Linked DNA regions of Homo sapiens: all the other regions are linked to region 2. The links are contacts of gene promoters, found by promoter capture Hi-C in blood cells and fetal thymus (Javierre and others, 2016). All regions are on one chromosome and are shown on one strand. The core of a region is centred on a gene start or on the middle of the fragment in contact, and the rest is flanking DNA. Distances in the headings are between cores, read along the strand shown. Region 1 has its middle 59 kb from the start of XKR4-AS1. Region 2 holds the start of LYN (LYN proto-oncogene, Src family tyrosine kinase). Region 3 has its middle 11 kb from the start of CHCHD7.

Region 1 (3,163 bases), core at 607-3,106, 300 kb before region 2:
CCAAGTCAATAAATATGAGCTTTGAGATACATTATTCTCATTTTGTGTGTAATGTTTTTGTACTTAATAGAGAACTCTGTTCTTGGCTTGAATATTTCACTGAGAGTCTAAAAATAAGTTATTTTTTAGATCCTTTTCTTTCTTATGATTAAAATTGGTGTTTCCAAACACTTCATGCTCTGTCTCCACACATTAATTTCACATTATCTCTTCCTAAGAGTTTAACATAGGCTTGGTTTTGTTGTCCTAAGAATTCTTGATACCAGGCAGTATGTGACCAACTGGGGAGGGGGACACAGGGAGGAAGGGGAGGCTCAGGTGGGGAAGAAGGTAGTCCTATTTGCAGTATTTAATTTAATCTTCATTAAAAAAATATTATTATAACCATTTTGCTGATGGTGAAACAGACCCATAGAGGCTCAGTGACTTGGCCAATACTAGGCAGATAAGAAGCAGCAGAACCCCCATTCACATCCAGGGTTGCCTTATTCTAAAGCCTGTGTTCAGACTGCTCAATCCTGCTTTTTCTCAAGCACCTATCACTGGTCAAAAATCTGGAGAGCTGATTTCTTCAACCAACCTATATGGCTCTAACTTGTAAGAGGGGGGAAACCGTAATACTTGACAAAGAAGGAAATCTCTCTTTCTAATCAGGGGCCTATTAGGGAGCAAAATGAGCAACCAAAAACTGCTTGATGAAGGGATAGCTCTGGAATCAGAATGGTGCGATGGAACCTAGCCTGCCCTCAGACTTGATGCTTCTATAACCTGATCTGAGACCACTCACTTAATGCTGAAGACACATGGCCCCAAACTTCATCCTCAACTCTCTGTACTAGGTGCATCCAACCCAGGGTTGCTAAGTCTAAGAAAACTGCTTATGGGGCAACCTAGTGGACATGTTTGTGTCACCTAATAGTCTGTCTGGTTCCATTCTGCTGGGGGAAGAGGACCCTCTCCTACACTTTTCCAGGCACAAAGTCTTTTGGAAGTGATTTGGCATGGAAAAAGACCTTCATGTTTCCTACCCTCATGGCACTAACAGTCAAATGGAACAGAGACCATTAGAAAAAAAAATTCATATGATTACTGCCAGGAAAGAGTAATCACCAAATGCTATAAAAATTCATGACTGAGAAATTTAACCTGAAGTGAGCTGGTTTGAATAGAAAAGCTAAGAGGTTTGAATGGAAAAGCTAAGAGAGTCTCTGCTGAATGGTTATTGTGGGTCCCTCATGAGCCCTGCTCTCGGTGTTCATGGTGTTGCATGCTTGGCCACCCATTCACTTGACTCTGGGCTTGGCTCTATGACTACTTTGGCCAACAGGACATTAGTGTGATAGAAGCAGAGGCATTCATGCACACTGGAGCTTGTCCTCTGGGGACAGCCCCAGCTTCTTAAAACCCCAAGGAAGAGGAATAGGACCTCTCAATCTCCAGTCATGACTAGTTGTAAACATACCAGCAACTCTGGCAAGTGGGGGCCAAGCCAAATGTATTTGATCTAGAAAAATTAAAAAATACCCGTTTCCTTTTGTCCCAATATTATGGAACAAAATTATATTTGTCACATTTATAATCAACTTCCACTTAAACATCTAATTCCATGAAACAATTTGATTGAATCTGTGTTCTTTGCAAACAAAATACTCCAAATAAAACACACTCTTTTTAAAAAAGGTCAAACTGCCCCTTCTGATCCTGTGATCACATCGACAATTCTACCAAGAAGTTTATGATGAGTTCAGGAGCAAAGCTTCTAGTTAGCACTAAACAGCTTTCCAACAGCAGGTGGAGCATTCACCTCAAAGATAAAAGAAGCATAACGGGAGGAAGGATACTGTCAGGGCCATATAGAAAAGCTGTTTCTACTCTTATTCAGCATGTTCCATTTCCAATGCTATTCTAGTCTTTAAAGGAAAAATTAAACTCACTTATTCCTGTGCTTCTAAATTCCTAAGCTTTGTTCCATGAGCTTAGTCCAAGGAAAAAATGACAGAGAACATCAGCTATAAGTGAGAAGTGTACAGCAGCTTGGTAGACACAGATATGCTATGGATGGTGACTATGCTCTGTATGGTTTCTGTATTCATTTCCTACAGTTGCTGCAACAAATTGCCACACACTTGGCTTCAAACTGCATAAATTTATTATTTTACAGTTCTGGAGGTCAGAAACCTAAAATAAATCTTAAAGAGCTAAAATCAAGGTGTGGGCAGGGCTGGTTCCTTCTGGGGGTTCCAGGGGAGAATCCGTTCTGACTCTTCCAGCTTTGGGAAGCCACCTGCACTTCTTGGCTCAGCTCATGGCCTTCTTTGCATCCTCCCAACCGCTTACCTCCATCAGTGTACCTCTGCTACCTACTCTGGTCTCCTGCCTCCCTCCTATAAAGACCTTTGTGATTACACTTGGCCCATCTGAAGAATGTAGGGCAATCTCCCCACCTCAAAATTCTTAACCACATCTGCAAAGTCCCTTTTGCCATATAAGATAGCATATTCACATGTTCTGGGGATTAGAACATGGACATCCTTGGGGGCCACTATTCAACATACCTGGGTTTCCAATACCCACCCTAGTATAGATACAACTGAATAAAATTAAATAATTTTACCCAGCTTCATGAGTGTAGAGAAATAAAGCTAGCCCAAGGAGTTCACATCATCGATAAGGAACTTATCCCACCTGTGTTCTGTGATAAAAATTCTATGCAAATGTATTGCACTTTTATTCCCAAGAACAGCTATTGGAACAATTTTAGAGACTTATGAGAATGAGTACCTGGTCTACAATGACTCAAGATGATGAAGATATTTCAAATGAGTCCACAAGTCTCTCGAATATGTCCACTGTATAAAAGATATACTGGTAGCTGTCAAACTAGACACTTCAGCAGCCTCTAGAAACAGAATAGTTGATAAGGACTACGACTAAAGAAGATTTGTCTCCAATTATTGACCACAATGATTTTTGTCATCCATGACTTCTCTAAATAAGTAAAAACATTGCCCTACGTACTTTATTATTACAGGCAGCCACTTTATTTTCATTACAATAAATATTTACTTGGCTACCTTATCCTGTTGGAAAAATTGTGACTTCTGAGAACTCAGGAAAACTAGAATCTATTTAGGGTTTACTCTGTACAAGTCCCCATGCCTAG
Region 2 (3,505 bases), core at 680-3,179:
AATTTCTGGGAGGTAGAGTGGGGAATAGATAAATATAAAAGGCAGTGCCTTCCCAAAAGGAGTTTACCAGTAGTTGAGGAGACAAGCCTAACATGGGCAAACAATGCTAAAAAGTACCTAGGTCTAGTTTAAAATAATGTTGCACACCATACATGCTACAGATGCTTTAAAAAGTTGCCTATCAATAGGAGCTTTAAATAAAACTTTCCTGAGAAATAGAACTTTCATGGGACATTAAGAAGGAAAGACAGATATGGAGAATGATTGAATGAAGTATTCAGCAAGTATAAATGCAGCCTAAGAAGTGGAAATTAGCATCGTATCGTTTTTTTCCAAATAAGAATGAAGAGATGAACTTAGTGAGGACAATTTTGTGAGGAGTTAGGGAGTTGGGGATCTGGTTGCAAGCTCAGGTAAGCCTGATGATGCTTTGTTCCTTACCCTGAGAGACATTTTACCAAAAACACTGACAGACATTCCTGATAGATTAACCAATACCAAACGTTTTTGAATCCTATTCTTATTTGCCACACACGTTTAGTCAGGATCTCAAGGATTCATCAGTAGCAGCAGAAACTTTAATGTAGGGTTAATATATTTGAGAGGTCATTCTTAAGAAAAGTCTAGGCAATAGGCCCTCAGGTAGTGAATTATTCTGTAGGATTCATTGTTTTTTGTTTCATTTTGTTTTGTTTTGTTCTTTTTTCATTTTTCTATTTTTCTCCATAGGATTCTTGATAGGTTTCAATCACACACCTTCCCATGGGTATTTCCATGGGCAACCCACCCCTTCTCTTCAGCAGTAAACTAACAACTACATACCAGTGAACATCACAGGTATAAACCACCTTTCTTCTTTTAAGGAATTAGTATGCAAACTTTAGTACTCTTTTCCTAGTAACAAATAACTGCTGTATCAGATTGTGTCACAAGGCAGCTGCTTTGACTTATTGCTCTGTAGCTGGGGTCAGCCTCTTCAGAACATTGTTAATGAGAGAAAGGAAGTGCTTTGGGCAGTGTCTGGCCCATCAGGCCCTCTGTAAATGTTTGCTATTAATGCAATGCTGAGATCCCAGTGAACAGAATCTGGCTTAGAAGAAGTGGGTATCCACGGTGCCCGAGCCTAATCTTACATCTTGGATTTGTAAGTGGCATTTATTGAGTTGAACATGAGCTTGAGCACGCGGTCACACATTCTTTCAGCAAACACTGGTTAGGCACCAGCTGCTACGTGCAAGCACTGCCCTACATGCTGGGACGCAGCTGTAGTAGGAATGAAATAACGCCAGCATTCCTGCATGCGGGCAGTGCGGGCCCTGTACAGAAAGGTACACGAGATAGGCATCCTCACATCCATTGTCCTGGGAGGAAACTGAGGCTTTGAGAAACGGAGAACTTGCCGGGCCATTTGACTCTACGTCATCCCCTCCCCCATCAATGCCCTGAACAGCCTCCTGTACACCCTTAAGGAACTTACTTTGTAATGATTATTAAGAACTCAGCGAGACCCCGAGCATCACCTCGGCATATCGCATCCTTTCTCTAGAGAACCCCTAATGTTGGAAGGGATCAGAGCGCACCTCCTCCGCTCCTGGGAGCACCCCCTTCCTAATAATACCTTGGGGATGGGTCGGAAGGAAAGGAAAGGAGACGCGAGAGGTGTAGTCGATGTGCCTGCGAAGCCCAGGCTCCTCTGGAGATCCTTCCGTCCGTCCCTACAGGAGAAGGCTGGCCCGGGCTGCTCCACTCCCCGGAGCTGCAGACTGAGTCGCCAGGTTTCTGTGCCTTCAAAGCCCTGCGCGACGGCCACACCAAACACCCAAACCTTGGGCAGGGACCAAACGGTCACTTCCCCGCCCTCCGGGCTCAATATGCAAATCCGAGCACCAGGAAGTAGCTGGGACCTCTCGGCCGAGCCCAGAGACAGCCAGTTCCTCTCCCGCCGCGCCGGGCCGCGCTGCCGCTCGCTCCCCGGCCGTGGCGCCTCCGGGCCAGACGCGCTGCAGCCTCCAGCCCGCGGCAAGCGGGGCGGCCGCGCCACCCCCGGCCCCGCGCCAGCAGCCCCTCGCCGCGCGTCCAGCGTTCCCGGCCAGCAGCCTCCCCATACGCAGGTCCTGCTGGGCCGCCCCGTCGCGCCCCCCACTCTGAACTCAAGTCACCGTGGAGCTCCGCCGCCCCGAAACTTTCACCGCGAGCGGGTGAGTCCTCTGCGCGAGCCCAGGGGTGGGCGCGGGCACGCGGGCAGTGGGTGCAGGGGCCGCGGCTGTGCCACCAGCCGGAGTCCCGGGCGCAGGGTAGACTCGGGGCCGGGGGCATCGGCGCGGCCCGCGGCGGCTTCCTGGCCGCACCGCCTCTGGGCTCCGGCGGCGAAGGCTCTTAGATGTCTTCAGCCGACGGGTGACCGGGCCCGGGGGAGCCAGGGCGCGGGGACTGAGGCTCCGCAGGTGTCCGCCGCGGAGCCGCGCAGGGGAGCGGTGGGAGGTGCGGGCGCGGGGGCGGGCTCACCGCGTGTCCTTCCCGGTGAGGGCCCGAGGGCCGGCTGCTGTCCCTGCTCCGGCCGCTTCTCGCACACAGTGGGGAAGCCGCTGCCCTTGCGGAGCGGGCGCGCGGCGGGGATACTGGAGAGGACTCCTCGGATTGTGCAATCTGATCTCCCCTCTGGACCCTGGGTCTCCTGGCAGTGGGAGATGGGGCTCGGCCGGCGCCCTCTCGAGGCCCGCGGACAGTTGCCCTCCCTGGTGGCCCCGGGCAGGAGCGTGACGTCGAGGGGCTGCAGCGGAGGCTGGAACTCACCCTCCCGCTGCGGCGCCTCTCGGCCTGCCGAGGAGCAGTCCGGTGCTTTTGCCGGCTGAGAGGAAGCGAGAGTTATTTTAAGAATTCAGGGGTTGCCTTTCCTTCGCCTTGGGGGAAGGGCGTAAGAGTCAGTTCCCACTTTCCTGCATTCTCTGGGCCCATGGTGGCATCTTTTGCTTGCGGTGCATTCGTAACTTTCCAACAGCCTGCCTGTCATGTGGATTAGCGGTTGTGTTTTTGTATATCCGAGTGTGTTAATTATCCCAAATTCGCCCTTCTTCGCCAGCTCAGAATCTAGGCCTTGCACTTTTCTGGCTGTATATTTAGGGGACCGATTATTGAAATTCCCTGTTTGAGTTTCTTCATCTTTGAGAGAGCATATATACCTCAGGGGCTGTTTAGTACACACAAAGCCCCTAGTACGTACCAAGCATTTCATAAACGATGTTACTGTTATTTATTGCAGTGAATTCTATTCATATAAATGAGGCTTCTTGGTTCTTTGCAGCTTGGTGATGTTGAAGCTAAGACTACCATGTCAGATTTAGCCATCTGACCTTATTAGTAAATCTGCTTAATAAATACATGAGGGATTTGCTGTCCCAAAGCAGGGCCCAGTAGTCTGACTTTCCCTAAAGAACTAGCCAATAAACTGGTGGGCTACAGGGATGTTTTCTCTGTACAGCCAACACCTAAAGCCATGCCCTGGGGA
Region 3 (3,066 bases), core at 223-2,722, 340 kb after region 2:
ATTCCTTATCAGATACGTGGTTTGCAATTTTTTTCTCCCATTCCGTGAGCTGTATTTTCACTTTATGGTGTACTTTGAAGCATAAAAGTTTTTGATTTTGATGAACTCCAATTTCTTATTTTCTTTCGTTGCTTTTGGTATCATATCTAAGAAAGCATTGCCTAATCCAAGGTCACAAAGATTTCCACCTTTTTTCATAGAGTGTTAATGGTTTTAGCTCTTACATTTGGGTCTTTGTATATTTTGACTTAATTTTTGTACATTATGAGGTAGGAGTTAGGCTTCATTCTTTTGCATATGGCTATTCAGTGTTCCCAGCACCGTTTATTGATGAAGACTATTCTTCATTGAATTGTCTTGGCACCCTTGTTGCAAATTTGCTGACTGTACATGTGAGAGTTTATTTCTGGCCTGAAATTCTATTCCATTGATCTGTATAGGTCTATCCTTATGCCAGCACCACACTGTCTTGATTACTGTAGCTTTGTAGTAATGGCACAGCTCTTTGATGATTGGTTTCTATAAGTGTGTTTTTTATAAAGTACTTTCAATGACAAACTAATTGTTTTGGGATTTTTAATCAGCAAATCCTTAACATATATGTAATGACTCTGTCCAGGCAAAACTTGTTCAGTTTAAAATTTGTCTTCAGTAATTCCCTAATTCCTAGTTTACCTCTTTACACCTACCCTGAAAACTTCAGTATACTCTTCTTATAACCTGGTTGTTCAAGATCTCATGGCACCACTTTTGAGTGGCAGTCTTGGGAGTTTTTCTCATCACCACTGTTAAATTTGCCTCTGTTGTATTTATTTCCCTTTCCAAGATTCTACTTTGGGAGAGGTGAAGCTAATTAATTTGATAAATTGTGTCAGTGGGCGCCATGAGAAATTTTGGCGTCGGCAAGCCTTTGATATCAATTATCAACTGACAAAATATAGAGAAGGCATTTTGCTGTGTTCATGTGCATCTCTGTCCTGCAGGAACCATCTTATTACAGATTCTCAGTGGGTTGGGGGAGGATGGTGCACTGTGTCTGTAGCACGGAAAAGCATCTTTTTTTTTTTTCCTTTTTGAGAATCGGATCTAGTATTTGTAAGCTCCTGGAGGACATAATATCATTCACGGTTATAGCCATAATGCCTGGTCTGCTTCTATTATATAGTAAATGGTCAACAAATGTGTGTGTTTGAGGAGGTGGTGGCTTTTAAAATTGACCACACTGAAAAACATGCAGGTTCAAACAATGCAAAAGGGTATACAGTGTACAATAAATCTGCCCCAGAAGCAGCCGGTGTCAAGTTTTCAAGATTTTCCATGCATATAAAAGCTTATCTATTACATAAAAAGAACATCATAGTACGTGAGCTGTAGGATACCTTGCTTTTTTCACTTAATGATATTAAGTGATATTAAGTTTGGAATGATTTTCTATCTGTGATTATAGATTTACTTTATTTCTTTCAGTGGCTTCAGTTTCTGTTTTATGATATACCATTATTGAAGCAATCTCCTGTTGATGAGTGTGCTATAAACAAGGTTGCAACATCTTTGTTCTTGGGTCTTTGTGCGTGTTTTTATCTGTAAAATTGCTAAGAGTGGAATTTCTAGGTTAAAGCTTTTTGCGTTTAAAAATGTGTAGATACTGCAAATCAATTGCCCTCCAAAAAGGACCACACCAATTTATACGCTTATAAACAAAGCCTGTGAGTGTTTCTTACCTGACACCCTCAGTCCCACTGGATACTTTAAAACTCTTTCATCCTTACCAATCTAATCAGTGAAAAATGGAACTGCAGGTTATTGGTTTTCCCTTGCTCATTTAAAAAATGTTGGTGTGAATGATTTGGGGACCCTTGGTCTATCAAAGAAATTACCTTTTTGTCGTATGTATTCTATGTGTATTCCCTAGTTTGTCTTTTAACTTTAATTTCTGCTTGTAAAGATATTTCTGTACAGTGTTTTACATTTCAATGTAATTAAGTGGATCAGTTTTTTTATTTATGATTTCTGGAGCTCAATAAATATTAAGTGAATCCAAGTACCAGTACTGCTGTTACCGTTAAATTCTGCTCAACAGATATTTGCCAGGCGTCGATAATGAGCAAAATGCTAGGCTAACGTTGTGGAGGAGCATGGATGAATAACACTGTCCTGGCCCTCAAAGAATTCCACTCTGCTGTAAGGGAAAATGAAATGATCACCATAATAGGAATAAGAGCAAACTTCTAAGAGGGGAGCCTCAATAAATACAAAGGGGCAATAAACACATAGCATGTTAGAGGAGAAGTTCTCACGGGAGCCAGGGTGTGTGAAGGGAGGTAGCAAGAGAAAAAGTCTAGAAAGGTAAAATGGGTGTAGATTATGAAGGGTCTTGAATGCCATGCTTGGTATTTTAGACCTTATTCTGTATGCAAGAGAAAGCTATGAAGGATTTTGAGATGGAGAGGATCAAATCTAGTTTGTGTTTAGAAAAATCTAGAGGCATTGAGGCAGACAGGTTATTGCAGTGATTCTGAATCACACTGCAGCTGTCTTAACTTTTCTCCCATCGAATCTTACCCCCGACCTCCCACCGCCATTCCTTCTGTATACTATGGCCAGGCAAATCTTTCTAAAACACAAATGAAATAATTCCTCTGCTTGGGAAAAAATTCCCAAGACCTGCTCACCACCTCAGGCGCACGTTCACATTTCTTCCCTTGGTTTACAAAATCCTCTGAGAGCTGGCACGTTTATAAAGGGAGCAGCTTGAGGAAGTTAGAAAGGGATTTGGTTTTGGACACATAAGACCCAACCCATGTCCTTAATGACCTTAGGTTTTAGTTAGATAGACAGACATAAAAATATCTAAGTGCAGGCTGAGCATCCCTTATCTGAAATACTTAGGACCGGAAAAGTTTTTTATTTTGATTTTTTAAAAAATTTTGGAATACTTGCATTATACTTATCAGTTGAGCATCCCAAATCTGAAAATCTGAAGTTGGTGTGCTCTAGTAAGCGTTTTCTATGAGCGTCAAATTTGGGATTTCAGCACTTTAGATTTCAGATTTTCAAATTTGGGAT

The links. Contacts are between HindIII fragments. The CHiCAGO score rates a contact against its expected background, and 5 or more counts as called.
Region 1: a contact is called between a fragment that was not itself captured here and the fragment with the promoter of LYN in region 2, in 1 of 17 cell types (erythroblasts). The highest score is 6.2, in erythroblasts.
Region 3: a contact is called between a fragment that was not itself captured here and the fragment with the promoter of LYN in region 2, in 1 of 17 cell types (naive B cells). The highest score is 5.3, in naive B cells.

The regions. Positions count from the first base shown.
Region 1 is chr8:55,578,161-55,581,323 of GRCh38, forward strand. No RefSeq gene overlaps it. Among named protein-coding and RNA genes, the nearest start is that of XKR4-AS1, 59 kb to the left of the region's middle. The HindIII fragment of the contact is 205 bases long and covers 1,755-1,959 here.
Region 2 is chr8:55,877,906-55,881,410 of GRCh38, forward strand. LYN (LYN proto-oncogene, Src family tyrosine kinase) reads left to right here and starts at 1,930. Exons shown (of 13, transcript NM_002350.4): 1 at 1,930-2,198. RefSeq lists enhancers at 1,024-1,113, 1,674-1,733 and silencers at 1,884-1,943, 1,964-2,133, 2,214-2,503, 2,534-2,713. The HindIII fragment of the contact is 13,046 bases long and covers 1-3,505 here.
Region 3 is chr8:56,221,133-56,224,198 of GRCh38, forward strand. No RefSeq gene overlaps it. Among named protein-coding and RNA genes, the nearest start is that of CHCHD7, 11 kb to the left of the region's middle. The HindIII fragment of the contact is 288 bases long and covers 1,329-1,616 here.